2 separate regions of the Homo sapiens genome follow, and region 2 is linked to region 1. The links are contacts of gene promoters, found by promoter capture Hi-C in human tissues and cell types (Jung and others, 2019). All regions are on one chromosome and are shown on one strand. Each heading gives the region's core, a stretch centred on a gene start or on the middle of the fragment in contact. The rest is flanking DNA. Distances are from core to core; before and after follow the strand shown.

Region 1 (7,818 bases), core at 1,396-3,895:
CCTCATGACAGATAGAAACTTACAGACAAGGCCAGGCATGGTGCCACACGCCTGTAATCCTAGCACTTTAGGAGGCCAAGACGGGTGGATCGCTTGAGCTCAGGACTGAGACCAGCCTGGCCAACATGGCAAAACCCCATCTCTACATAAAAAATACAAAAAATTAGCTGGGCGAGATAGTATGCACCTGTGGTTCCAGCTACATGGATGGCTGAGGTGAGGCAGGAGGATCCCTTGAGCCCAGTGCTCAAGGGAACAGTGAACCAAGATCACACCACTGCGCTCCAGCCTGGGTGACAGAGTGAGACCCTGTCTCCAAAATAAACAAATCAATCAAACAAACAGACAATAAATAAACTTATAGACAGACACACAGATAGAGGCACATCCTATAACATTTTTCACTTGCCTGTTTTCAAAAATTCTCTCTCTTCCTTTAGACTATTAATTTTTAAAAAATTACGGGAGCCAGCAAAAGTTGAAGGAGAGAGTTACCATCCCAGGCCTTTTCAAAAGAGGGAAAGCTCTGAGGCAAGCAGGATGCAGCAGAAGTGGAACCCCTAGGATGTCCATCTGAAGAATTTCAAGAAGAGATTATGGAATTCAAAAATAAAAAACTTCTTGCAATTTCACTGAGTACATCAGTATTTTAAGAAAATCTTGTTCTAACCAATGATCTCCTTTTGCATTACTGTATTTTTATTATTGAAGTCCAATACCTAGAATGATTATAATTTCCTTTTAGTTATAGCAAACTTAATTACATAAAAATTTTTTTGAATTCCTTTTTTACAGACTGTATTATGACTTGCACAGACCATATACAACCTGCTTGGATTTTCTGTTCTGTCCTAAACATCTCTCTTAAACAACAAGATTCTTTCTCATACAAAATTATTTTTCTTTTAACATTTCTTACCAAAAATACCTCCTTGTAACTTTCTTCTTCTTTTTTTTTGAGATGGAGTAGTCTCGCTCTGTCACCCAGCCTGGAGTGCAGTGGCACGATCTTGGCTCACTGCAACCTCTGCCTCCCGGGTGCAAGCAATTCTCCTACCTCAGCCTCCTGAGTAGCTGGGATTACAGGCACATGCCACCATGCCTGACTAATTTTTATATTTTTAGTAGAGGTGGGGTTTCACTGTGTTGGTCAGGCTGGTCTCAAACTCCTGACCTCATGATCCGCCTGCCTCAGCCTCCCAAAGTGCTGGGATTACAGGTGTGACCCAATGCACGCAGCCTAACTTTCTTTACATCTCTTGTTTCTTGGTTCCTTTTACCATATTTCATAAATAACCCTTAAATAAACCTAGAATCTGGCCGGGTGCGGTGGCTTGCACCTGTTATCCCAGCACTTTGGGAGGCTTAGGTGGGTGGATCACCTGAGGTTAGGAGTTCGAGACCAGCCTGGCCAACATGGCAAGACCCCTATCTCTACTAAAATTACAAAAATTAGCCAGGCATGGTGGTGGGCACCTGTAATCCCAGCTACAAGGGAGGCTGAGGCAGGAGAATCGCTTGAACCTGGGAGGCAGAGGTTGCAGTGAGCTGAGACTGCACCATTGCACTCCAGCCTGGGAGACAGAGCGAGGCTCCATCTCAAAAAATATAAATAAATAAACATGGAATTAGATGAAAATAACTTAGCTTTGAATAAGAACATATTTTTTAGAAAAGTTTTTCTATAATACAATTTATTTAAATTGAAAATGGCCCAGACATTTAGTGAATATCTATTATTTAACTTTAGATTCTAAATTATATTTATTTACAGGCATTTGTTTCATTACATTTACCTAATTAATTTTATAAAATCTTTTACCTAGATTATCTGTGAAAACTCTGATAGTCATCATTTAAAGTTATTTCCCTGTTAACCATTTTTATAGTCTATGAATTTTCTGTGTTTGCCTAAGCAAAAATTTTAAATATATATATATTTTACTGATAACTTGGGATTTAGCTCTTTTTACTACACTAATAACATTAAACGTCTTATTTCTCAAAAAGTACAGAAACAAAGATTATTGTGTTTCATGCTGGGTTGCTGGGTTTATAGTTTTGTAAGCCTTATGCCAAATTTTGACACCTTATAATATCTGTCAGAGGTAAATATGAAACTGCTTGATCAGTAAATGCAAACAAACATGTATGCTGACAATTTTTAAGATATTTCTAATACTATCGTACCAATAATTTTAAAGCCAGCTTATTTATTAAAGATTTATGTAAGTCACGTGAACTTGAAAAGCGTTTTGGCTTATTATTTAATTTATGAGTACTCTTTGACTTGAAGCCAATTTGACACTTCAGGGCTAAAGCACGTAAAAAATGTATATGTGCACACATATGTGCATGTACATAAACACATCTAAATACGCATGCACACTCACACAAAGATCCTATAGCTTTTACTTCAGAACTCTAGCAAGAGATATCAACACAAACTCACCAGTTTATACAAACAAAAAGGTTGGATCCCAACAGTGACTTCTATCTCAACAGCAGTGGAAAAGTAACAGAAGGGCCAGGAGTGGTGGTTCACGCCTGTAATCCCAGCACTTTGGGAGGCCGAGGCCGGCGGATCACTTGAGGTCGGGAGTTCGAGACCAGCCTGGTCAACATGGTGAGAGCCTGTCTCCACTAAAAATACAAAAATTACGTAGACGTGGTGGCGCACGTCTGTAATCCCAGCTACTGGGGAGGCTGAGGCAGGAGAATCGCTTGAACCTGGAAGGCAGAGGCTGCAGTAGATAGCGCCATTGCACTCCAGCCTGGGTGACAGAGCAAGACTCTGTCTCAAAAAAAAAAAAAAAGAAAAAGAAAAGAAAAGAAAAGAACAAAAAGTAAACAGAAGATTTAAAGTAGGCAGAAAAGAAAATAGCAAAATAGAGGACTTAGGAACTGATTGGTTGCAGGTTGACCTTTGGGCTGGAATTTTCTCTGGTGTAATGTGTGCAGCAGTTTAAAGTGTGAACAAGCACAGACATAATATGTAACAGGAAGCTTCTTGTTTGACCTGGCATGCCCTCAAGCTTTTCCCGCTTACACAAATACTTGCAAGTAGAGGAACCAGAGAACCAAAAGGGGTGCCCAAATGGGGGTCGCTCTCTCCGCCTTTCCTCATCCTTACATGCTATGTCTCCCACTTTTATTTTAAAATGAGGAACTAAACTGTGGCCTGGGTTTTAGTAGGGTGGATTGAAGTGTGCTGGCTGTGAGAGGGACTACACTGTGTGTCACCACTGAGTCTTTCTACCCTTTCACGTGTCTGAGTTTCTCTCTCCAGAGGTCTAGACCTCTGACAGGGCTCAACATAGCAAGTGATCAGCTCTTACACCTGTCTCCTGGATGAGCCTCTTAAAATTAATTTTGTTGTGTGGTTCCCTGTAGGGTCACTGCACATCATGGCAGGAGTCAATCCCCCAGAGACTCCCACTCAACCCCTACCACCCAGGGGTGGTTTTTGGCTAGGAGGAGCAAAACTCCCTTTCTTTTCCAAGCTGAGGAGGTCAGCCTCTCGTTTGGCAATTCAAAATTATGCCACAAAAGTGGCAGTTCAGTCTCTCACGCAAATGTACTCACAGGCCAATCGACATTAATTTGGGGGGAAAAGGGCAGTGGAGAAGACCATTTAGAATGCACCACCAAACCTAAAGTAGGATCCTATACAACAACTTCCTAGGAGAAAAATAAAAAGGAGGTAGAAAAACAGCTCAGAATGAACCAAGGACCATCAACCAAATGGAAGGTCCAGAGCTGCAGAGGACTCACCGGTTCCACTGGAGGAGAAACCTAAAGCCAGGGAGGGCTTCCAATGGCCCTGCGGGTAACTTAGCTCCGGGTTCGGGCAACTGCGTCAAGGATTCTGAGTCTTTTCTGAGGCCCCACGTGTAGGGCACCAATTAATGTCCATGAAAAGAGTCAAACTCTGTAAAATATTTGAAAAGAGTTATTCATTTAACCAATGGCTCACGACACAGCCCCAAGGAGGTCCTGAGAACAAGTGCCCAAGGTGGTTGGGTGACAGCTTGGCTTTATACAATTTACGGGGACAGGAGACATCAATCGACACATGTGAGATGTACATTGGCTTAGTCCAGAAAGGTGGGATTCCATTCAAAGTGAGGAACTTCCAGGTCGTAGGTGGATTCCAGGATTTTCTGATTAAAGACCTGTAATTAGTAGAAAGGAAATGTCTGGGTGAGGATAAGGCGTTGAGGAGACCAAAGTTTTTATTATGCACATGTAGCCCGCAGGTAGCAGGCTTCAGAGAAATCAGGTAGTAAATGTTTCTTATTAGACTTAAAATGGTGCCAGACTCTTGCTTAACCTTTCCTGGATCAGAAAAAATAATAATTTCACAGTGGAGAATTCCAACAGACACCACTTAATCCAGGTGATGAAATTTAACATCACCAGGACAGGACATACAGACATCATGCACTCCGTAACATGACACACTGAAAACTTACATCAATTCTGATGATTTTTTTGCCAAAAATGCATAACCTCAGTCTAATCATGAGAAAACACTGGACAAAACCAAACTGAAGGCTGGGCACAGTGGCTCAAGCCTGTAATTCCAGCACTTTGGGAGGCTGAGGCGGGCGGATCACCTGACATCAGGAGTTCGAGACCAGCCTGGCCAACAAGGTGAAACCCCGTCTCTACTAAAAATACAAAAACTAGCCGGGCGTGGTGGCAGGTGCCTCTACTCCCAGCAATTGTGGAGGCTGAGGCATGAGAATTGCTTGAACCTGGGAGGCAGAGGTTGCAGTGAGCCAAGATCGCACCACTGCACTCCGGCCTGAGGGATAAAGGAAGACTCTGTCTCAAAAAAAAAAAAAAAAACTGAAGAACAATCTATAAAATAATTGACCATTACTTAGATTGGATAGTGGAACAGAATCATATCAAATGCATCCATTTATTTTCAACATTTTGTTTGTTTTTAATTAAGCTGCCTCCTACACTACCGTATGTCCGGATTTTATGTTTATTTTCCCATTCAGAAAGCCTATCTTTTTTAAAGGAATTTTAATCCATCCATGTTTATTATGATCATGGTTATATTTGGATTGAGTCCTGCAGTTTCACTTTATATTATTTTCCCTTTTTTACACATATCAGATTTTCTGCTTCTTCGGTGTAATTCTTTCCCACCCACCTCTGATTGCATGAATCAGGTTTTCTTCAATCCACGCATTTCCCATTAAGGCTCTGAAACTTGTACACATCTTTTCTAGTTTTCTGGTGGTAACCACCTTTCACCTGTCAGCACACGTATTTAAGCTTATATTTTCTATCAAATATAAAGATAGTCATTACCTATGTCTTCTTCCCAGACGAAACAAAAACATGAACATATGCTCATTCTCTCTTTCTTCTCTGCTCTTTCAATTACCTCCCATGTGAAATGTTAATTCCAGATTATTTTCACAACTGTGCACTAACACATTCAGACTTTGTTTTATACATTTATTTATTCAGCACTGCTTCCTGTGTACTCTCTTCTTTTTATTATTATTATTAGTAGTAGTAGTAGTAGTATTTTGAGACAGGGTCTTGCTCTGTCACCCAGGCTGGAGTGCAGTAGTGTAGTCATAGCTCACTGCAGCTTCAATGTCCTGGGCTCAAGTGATCCTCCCACCTCAGCCTTCTGAGTAGCTGGGACTACAGGCATGTGCCACTCAGCAATTTTAAACAAATTTTTAGTAAACACTCAGCAATTTTAAACGAATTTTTAGTAAAGATGAGATTGCACTATGTTGTCCAGGCTGGTCTTGAACTCCTGGACCCAAGCGATCCTCCCACCTCAGCCTCCCAAAATGCTGTGGTTACAGGCATGAGCCACTGTGCTTGTCTACTCTCGCCTTTCTTGTATTACATTCCATTTTGCTGGAGTCAATCAACTAACTTTTTCCTCAAAGGTCTTTGAGGGATAACATTTTTGAGCATTTGCAAATTTGAAACCCTCTGTAAAGATCAAAAATGGCACATTCATTTTCTTCAGTCTCTCCATACCTCAGGTGATATGGTTTGACTGTGTCCCCATCCAAAGCTCATCTTCAACTGTAGCTCCCATAATTGCCACGTGTTGCAGGAGGAACCCAGTGAAAGATAATTGAATCATGGGGGTGGTTTCCACTGTTCTCATGGTAGTGAGTAAGCCTCATGAGATCTGATGGTTTTATAAGAGGTTTCACTTGGCTCTTTTTTCTCTCTTGCCTGCCACCATGTGAGATGTGCCTTTTGCCTCCTGCCATGATTGTGAGGCCTCCCCAGTGATGTGGAACTGTGAGTCCATTAAACCTCTTTCCTTTATAAATTACCCAGTCTTGGGTATGTCTTTATCAGCAGCACGAGACTAATACCTGAGGAATATGTTCTTCCTGGCAAACATGCAGGGCAGCAAACACAAAGACACTCTGGGGCTATTTCTTAAATCTCCCTCCTACTACCTTAACAATTCTCCAAAATAATGCTGTGAGTTTTGGAAAATATAATAATGAAGGAAGGGTTTGCTCCCATCACCTCGTTGCCAGCTCTCTGGCAAAACCACAGAAAATCTCTTCTCAGACACCTTCCAGAACTCACGTCTTTAAGGTTCATGGTAGGAGGCTTCCCATGTGGGAGCGTCCCTGATGAAGACTCTGTCTGTCCTTCACTCTCTCTCAATTCCCCCAGTCCTCTGAATATGTGCCTTTTCATGTCCCAGCATGGGATGATAGACAGATCAGGGCAGATGGTTTGAGTAAGACTCCTACTTCAGCTACCTCATGTTTCTTATACATTCATTTAACACCTCTTATTTTGTCAGCATTTTATTTTTATTTTTAATTGATAAATTTTATATATATTATATATAATATTTTATATATAACATTATATATAATATTTTATATATAACATTATATATAATATTTTATATATAATATTATATATAATATATTATATATATTATATATATTTTATATATAATATTATATATATTATATATATTTTATATATAATATTATATATATTATATATATTTTATATATAATATTATATATAATATTTTATATATATAATATATATATTATATATAATATTATATATAATATTTTATATATATAATATATATATATAATATATAATATTATATATAATATTTTATATATATAATATATATATATTATATATATTATATATAATATTATATATAATATATATAATATATATATATTATATATATTTTATATAATATTTTATATATAATATTATATATAATATTTTATATATATTATATATAATATTTTATATATAATATATATATAATATTTTATATAAAATATATAATATTATATATAATATATATTATATAATATTATATATATAATATTTTATATATAATATTATATATATTATATATATAATATTTTATATATAATATTATATATATTATATATAATATTTTATATAAAATATTATATATATTATATATATAGTACCATGGAATGCTTTGATATATGTTCACAATGTGGAATGATTACATCAGGCAAGTCAATAAATCTTTCCCCTCCCAGGAGCAATAAGCTTAGAGATCTATTGCACAGAATGGTGACCATAATAAGTAATAATGCATGGTATATTTTAATGACCACTTCTTCCTAATCTAAGTTCTGGGTTAAGAAAATTCAACCTCAGTCTTTCTTGTAATAAAATAAAATTACTGTCATCTTAAAGTGCTCGTTCCAGCCTCTTGTGTTTTCGCATATTTATCTATGTAATCTTTGCAGCAACTCTATGAAGCATTTGCTATTGTAGTCATTT
Region 2 (7,818 bases), core at 3,006-5,505, 580 kb before region 1:
AGCAGGTTGTTTTGAATATGCCCCTTATGGGGCCACTGGCTACGTTCAGTTGAGTTTCTTGGTGGTGAACGCACCCCATCCTAACCAGAGGTTCTTAGTCTGAACAGAAGATAAGGTCGTGTTTTATTGGCTTGAGCATGTGTTGTGTTTGACACACTAAGAGGCAGGCTTTAAAAGACTTTAGCAAGAAAACGAGGCTCCGCTTAACAATGAGTCGCCTAGAAGGGACACCCTGTCCAGTGAATGGTAAGACAGGGAGGTGTCAGGGGAAACAGCACCTCAGAAGCCGACTGCTCTGGAAGGAAATAGAAAGGATTATATAGAACCTCTCTCTCAGGCCCCAAATCCCATCTGAGTTGAGTGACATTATATTAAGTGGATGGCAAAGCACTTTTATGATCGAGTTTGGCCAGGTGAGGTGCTCATGCCTGTAATCCCAGCACTTCAGGAGCAATCCGAAGTGGGAGGATTGCTTGGGGCCAATCCAATAGTTTGAGGCCAGCCTGGACAATGTAGCAAGACCCCATGTCTACAAAAAATTTAAAAATTAGCTGGGCATGGTAGCAAGTGCCTGTAGTCCCAGCTACTAGGGAGGCTGAGATGGGAGGACTGCTTGAGCCCAGGAAGTCGAGGCTGCAGTGACCTATGATTGCACCACTGCACTCCAGACTGGATGAAAGAGTGAAACTCTGTGTCAAGAAAAGAAAAAATAATAAAATTAAAAGATATAATTATATATATATATGGGGGGGGTTTCCAATGTTCTGTGGAAACAACAACAAAAAAAGGAATTGCAGAAATAGAATAAACCAGAAGCGTAATCAAAGTCTGGTCTCTTGCCACTTGTCCTTCTTTCTCTCCTAGTTTATCTTCTTTGAGAGTAGGGAACCAGCAGCGACCATCTTGGTACTGTCTGATCTAACATGCCTCTCTTTATGCAGCTCCCAGCCCCTTCCAGTGTTCCCCACAGTGCCCCTGTTTCTTTACATACCCAGTGTGGGTTCCCCAAGAGCAGAAACAGTGATAGATAGAAGTGAACTGACAGTTCACTTCTTCCCATTATTTGTTAAATCTTATCAAATTGGCTGAGAAGCAAGACCTCAATGACTCATATCTTTCCTTTTTTTGGTAGAGATGGGTATGGGGATCTTGCTGCATTGCCTAGGCTGCTTTTGAACTCCTGGGCTCAACTGATCCTCCTGCCTTGTCCTCCCCAAGTGTTGGGATTACAGGCGTGAACCACTGCACCTGGCCTTAATGAGGCATTTTTCTTATCCAAATCACTGTCCCTGGTTGTCCATGATGCTAGAATTTTGATTCTCTGCTTTTTAAAGTCATATGTTGGTTCCTGCAACTTTTATCATTTGACCAGGTAAACATGTCGCCTGGGCAAATGGCACATCAGGATTGACATTCCTTATAGAAATAAATATCATTTAAAACAAAACACCAAAACAAAGCTTTGGGACTTGTTGCCAATTCAGTAGAGGTATTATCTGCCGGTGTTTTTTACAACACCTGAAAGTACCTGCATCTGAGAGGAGCCAGCTGGTGCCAGGATCGTAAATAAAATGTAGAATTTTGGCTACAGTGCATCAAAAGAGTGCCGGCAGATGTGTCGCTTATCCCGGGGTCAAGGGACCCATCTACAGCTGTGGACACTTCTGTCGTTCCTTTATAGGGCTTTGCATCTTCAGGGGCCTCTTCTCATCCATACTCTTTACTTTCTAGACTGCTTTATAAGAGTTTGCTTTGGTATTTTACTTTTTCTTTTAAAGAGACGGGTGTCTTGCTCTGTCACCCCGGCTGGAGTGCAGTGGCACAATCATAGCTCACTGCAGCCTCGACGTCCTGGGCTCAAATGACACTCCCACCTCAGCCTCCCGAGTAACTGGTGCTACAGGCATGCACCACCATGCCTGGCCAATGTTTTGATATTTTGTAGAAACGAGGGTCTTACTATGTTGCCCATGCTGGTTTCGAACTCTTGGTCTCACGTGGTCTTCCCACTTCAGCCCACTGCATAGCTGGGATTACAAGCCACTGTCCCCTGTATTTTAAATAAATCTTCATTTTCTTACATGCCAAACACCAAAAAAATTTAAAAAAAAATTCAAGGTCATCAAACATTTTGTTTTCTTACATGACACACACACACACACACACACACACACACACACACGTTGAAATTTATCAGGTGATCACCAAAACATTCTGAAATAAACATAGGGCTTTTTTTCCCCCCTATAATTTACACCACTGCCTGCCCCATTAGCGTATACACTTAAAGCTGATTGGACTGGGATTATAAGAAAACAAAGGTTTATCTAAAATATAAAAGCATAAATAAACCTGTCTTATAATTGCACTCCAGTGAGCTTTAAGTGTGTGTGGTAAGGGGGCAGGCAGTGGTGTAAATCACGTGGGGGACGAAGCCCCACATTTATTTGGGAATGTTTTGGGGGTATAGTGTTTGATAACCTTGATTTTTTTTTGGCAGGGGGGAGCATGTCAAAATAATGAAGGAGAAACTCACTAAGTAGTGGAAAGGTTTCTAACTTTTAGGTGATTTTTATATTCCCCATCCTGCTCAAAGCTTTTCAGCCTTACAGGATGGATACAAAATCCTAGCCTTAGGTGGGCGGACAGATGGTCTCTGAGTTTTACTTTGTGGCAGAGAAGCGGTGAAGTCTGACAAGCATCCCATCCTAATTCAGAAAGCATGGTGGCAGGAAACTGTAAAATTTCCGATCAGACAGCACTGGCGAGATTCACAATCTAGATGGTGGAGTCTGACCCTAGGACGTCACCTGGCTTGTCGGAGACTCCACAGTCTGTCACAGAACCTGGGAGTGGCTCAGTCCAAGTTCGTGCTACTTACCTTGGGGCATAGTTTATGCTGGGAAAGCCTAGACGCTTACACCGGGGTCATGGGTATTGGATTGTTTTGGGGGACTTCAATATATTATATTATTATATCATATTATGTATGTTATTATACATAATGTACTCTGTGTATTTTATGTGTACACACAGACACACATGATCATTTCTACTTCCATAAATATGCATCTTTTAGAACTCACCTAATCTCCTGGAAGTCTTCAACATCATCTCCAACTACCCATCCTAATTGAAGCAGCTTGCTGTTTTTTGTTGTCGTTGTTGTTGTTTGTTTTTGTTTTTTTTTGAGACTGACTCTACCTCTGTCACCCAGACTGGAGTGCAGTGGCTCAGTCTCAGCTCACTGCAACCTTCGCCTCCTGGGTTCAAGCGGTTCTTGTGCCTCAGCCTCCCAAGTAGCTGGGACCACAGTTGTGTGCCAGCATGCCCAGCGAATTTCTTTTTCTTTTTTTTTGTAGAGATGGGGTTTCACCATGTTGGCCAGGCTGGTCTCAAACTCCTCACGTCAAGTGATCCACCCGCCTCGGCCTCCCCACAGTGCTGGGATTACTGGTGTGAGCCAGTATGCCCAACCTCCCCACCTGCTGTACTTCTGACATGGTCTGTTATTTAAAAGGAAGATTATAAGTGAAGAAGCAGACTTAGGAGACTCATCCTAATGTGTGTGCTTATGGGAAAGCCAGCCTTTTAAAACAGGAATCCCATCAATAAGCAGACCCCCAGGACAGCGCGTGAGTGTTGATGTTGGTGAAAGCAGATGTCTTCTATTTTGCAGGGACAGCCTGACAGGCATGTTTACGTTAAGTGTCTGGATCCTCCCTGCAGGCACATATAAATTTCACCCTTTTCTACTCAGAGGTGTATTTTCTTTACAAAGATGTAATCAACCCCCTTCCCTTAGCTTCAGCCTTGCACGGGGCAACCCAGCCTTGCATAGGTGATTTAAGAGCCGGTGATGGTAGGAAATAAGCACTAGAAAGTGTTTTGCCAAAGTGGAAATTGAACTGCGGTCCTCATGTCAGATAGATCTTATCTCTGTTGCCATGCTGCGTTTGCTGATGTTGATATATAATCTGTGTACTTTTTTTTTTTTTGTCTCCTTCCCCAACATAGAGACCTCATTAAGAAACTGCTCGTGGTTGACAGAACAAGGCGATTAGGAAACATGAAGGTCAGTATTTGATCCCGTGGGTATTCAGTGGTACCCGATGTGCGTGTCTGCCGTCTAACACCCACATTGGCATGTGCAGGTATAAACCAAGGCTTAGCGGTCGTATTTAATCACTGCCCAAATTTCAAATCTGGTGTTTTATTTATTTTTTTAAATTTTACTTGAAACTGCCAGGAAAGATCTATCAAATCTCGGTTTCTGGGCCCACAACGTCAAACTGGGTCTACACCGTATCTCCCCTCCCCTCAAGCAAGGTTAATAGAGCAATAACAATGCATAAGTTATTACTCATTATTTTGTTTACTTATTTATTTTATTTTTTAAACAGTTTTACGGAGAGTGAATTCACACGCCATGCCATTTACCCATCTAAAATGTGCAATTCGGTGGCTTTTAGTATACACACGATTATGTACAGCCACCCCTGTGGTTAATCTTAGAACATCTTCATCAGTTCAAAAAAAGAAACCCTGCACCCTTCAGTTATCACTGTGCTATTCTTTCATCCTCTCTTGCCCTAAGCCAGCGGTCCCCGACCTTTTTGGCACCAGGGGCCAGTTTTGTGGAAGACAGTTTTTCCACAGACCGCACAACCTAAATCCCTTAGTTGCGCAGTTCACAATAGGGTGTGTGCTCCTATGAGAATCTAATGCCACTGCTGATCTGACAGGAGGCGGAGCTCAGGTGCTAATGCCAGCCATGGGGAGCAGCTGTCAGTACAGGTGAAGCTTCGCTCACCTGCCTGCTGCTCACCTCCTGGTGTGCGGCCCATTTTGGTTCCTCATAGGCCGTGGACCACTACCAGTTTGTGGCCCAGGGGCTGGGGACCCCTACCCTAAGCAGCCACTAATCTACTGACTTTCTCTGTAGGGTTCGGTGTTCTGGGCTCTGCTAAAAATGGAATTGTACAAAATGTAAGCTTTTGCCTCTGGCTTCTTTCTCTGAGCACGATGTCTTCAAGGTTCATCCAGGCTGTAGCCCGTGTCAGAGCTTCCTTCCTTTTCCTGACTGCATAGTATTCGATTGTGTGGGCAGACCTCGTTTTGTTTATCCATTCATCTATGGATGGACATCTGGGCTGTTTCCACCTTTTGGCTTTTGTGAATGGTTCTGCCATGGACATGAGAGTAGGTGTTTTGTGTGCGCAGGTGATGATTTTAAAAGTTGTGCATCAGGTATGATTTCCACAAACTTTTTGTGTGGAGGCAAGTATATAATTGACAAACAGACTATTCCTTAAGTAGTATCATACCTGATATGCGTGTTTTGACATCCCTGAATTTGACAGAATTCATGGACTTTTTGTTGGCCATTTCTAGCTCTGGACAACCTCAGAGGGACTTATACATGGAGGAACTTCCATATACGTCTTGACCCTGTAAATTACAGTCTGGAGAGACACAGTACACCGGGGTGTGAGGCTTGAACCACTTGGCTCTCTTGGGGCCCTCTGTGTGGTTTACGAGTCTCCAGTAGCTGCCATAAGAACTGACCACAAACTAGGGGCTTAAACAACAGGAATTTCTGCTTTCCCCATCCTGGAGACGAGGAGTCTGAGATCAAGGTGTCTCAGGCCTCCAGAGGCTCTAGGGGAGGATCATTCCTGCCTCTCCCAGCCCCTGGGGGCTCCGGGCATCCCTGGGCTTATGGCCGCATCACTCCAGTCTCTGTCTTTCTTCACGTGGCCTTCTCTGTGTCTGTGTCTCCTCTTCTGTCTCTCAGAAGGATGCCTGTCATTGGGTTTAGGGTCATCCTAATGCAGGATTATCTCTTCTCAAGAGCCTTCCCTTAATTACATTTACAAAGACCCTATTTGCATGTAGGGTTCCATTCCCAGGTACTGGGAGTCAGGACATGGGCATATATTTTGAGGGCCACTGCCCAATGTGTGATAATTGTGTCTGCTTCCTGCTAGAGGCTCTAGTGGGGGATCCTTCCTGCCTCTCCCAGCTCCTGGGGGCTCCAGGCATCCCTAGGCTTGTGGCCACACCACTGCAGTCTCCACCTCCATTTTCACATGGCCTTCTCTATGTTTGTGTCTCCTCCTCTGTCTCTTATGAGGACACCTGTCACTGGATTTAGGGCCCACCCTTCTCCAGGATGATGTCATCTCAAGAACCTTAATTTAGTTACATCTGCAAAGACCCTATTTCCAAATAAAGTGATATTCACAGGCACTGGGGGATAGGATGTGCACATATCTTTTTGAGGGACATTGTTTACCCTATAACAGTAGTCAAGCTTCTGTCCTTTACATTATTTGCGGACAGCAACGGATACCTTCAGGTCTCCGAGGAGCCTATCCAGCCAGGTTGCACGGTGTGGACTCATCTGTGCCACGGCTCTTCATAAGATTGGACGAGTCCTGTTTTAATGCCACAGCCATTTAGAAAAGAGCTGGGTCTCTTGCTGGGACTGCAGGGAATCACAGACGACCCATATCTAGAATCTGCTGGGAATGGCGTAGTGACCATCATAGGTACCTTCCAAGGGGGAAGAACAAGTTTCCCAATCAAAGGAATTGGGGAAAAGCTCACAAACTCCCAAGCTAGGTCTTAAAGTCTAGTTAAAGCTTCCTGATATGGAGATAAACTGAAAGAGACTCAAGAAAACACTGACTTTATTTTATTTTTTTTTTAAATTAACACATGAAAATGGTATTATTTAGCATGTACAACATGAAGTTTTGAAATATGTACCCATTGTGGAATGGGTCCATTGAGTTCATTAACATATGCCTTACCTCACATAATTACCATTTATTTGTGGTGAGAACACTTAAGATCTAAGAAAAAAATTGTTTTTAAGAGTTGGGGTCTTGATGTGTTGCCCAGGCTGGTCTCGAGCTCCTGAGCTCAAGTGATCCGCCCACCTTGGCCTCACAAAGTGCTAGGATTACAGGCAAGAGCCACTGCACCCAGCAAGATCTACTCTTCCAGAGATTCTTGAGAATACATCATTAGTTATAGTCACCGAGCTGTGCAAGCCACTGACTGAACTTGTTCCTCCTGTCTCTCTCACTTTGTCTCTTTTGACCAATGACTTCCCATCTCAGCCCCTTCCCAGCCCCTGGTATCCACCATTCTACTCTCTGCTTCTATGAGTTCAACTTTTTTAGATTTCCCATGTAAGTGAGGTCAGACTGTATTTGTCTATCTGTGCCTGGCTTATTTCTCTCTCTCTCTCTCTCTTTTTTTTTTTTTTTTTTGAGACACAGCAAGGCGGAGGTTGCAGTGAGCCAAGATGGCGCCATGCCCTCCAGCCTGGATGATGGAGTGAAACTCTGTCCATTGCCCCGCCCCCCCAAAAAGAACATAGAGTATAGTAAATAGATAAACCAGGGACATAGTCATTTATTATCATTACCAAGTATTAGGTGCCGTAGGTAACGTATGTGTTAGACTGTTACACGCCTGGCAGCGTAACAGGAGGGATGCATTGTCCTGTGGTTACAATGGCCATGGCGTCACTAGGGGATAGGAGTTTTTAAGATCATTATAATCTTACAGGAGCAACACTGTATATGTCATCCATTGTTGACTGAAGCATCATTTTGAGGCTCATGACTGTAGATACACACCCACACACACACTTTTTTTATTTTTATTTTTTCAAGACAGGATCTTGCTCTGTCATCCAGGCTGGAGTGCAGTGGTGCGATCACAGCTCACTGCAGCCTTGACCTCCTGGCGTCAAGTGATCCTCCCACCTCCGCCTCCCGAGTAGCTGGGACTCAGTGCATG

The links. Contacts are between HindIII fragments. The study calls those that stand out against the background at their distance.
Region 2: a contact is called between a fragment that was not itself captured here and the fragment with the promoter of ARSF in region 1, in 2 of the 25 tissues and cell types used here (bladder and mesenchymal stem cells).

Annotation. Positions count from the first base shown.
Region 1 is chrX:3,036,298-3,044,115 of GRCh38, reverse strand. ARSF (arylsulfatase F) reads right to left here and starts at 2,645. Exons shown (of 11, transcript NM_001201539.2): 1 at 2,453-2,645. The HindIII fragment of the contact is 6,572 bases long and covers 1-4,165 here.
Region 2 is chrX:3,617,516-3,625,333 of GRCh38, reverse strand. It overlaps PRKX (protein kinase cAMP-dependent X-linked catalytic subunit), which reads left to right. Exons shown (of 9, transcript NM_005044.5): 6 at 4,018-4,075. Among named protein-coding and RNA genes, the nearest start is that of PRKX-AS1, 38 kb to the left of the region's middle. The HindIII fragment of the contact is 4,454 bases long and covers 2,029-6,482 here.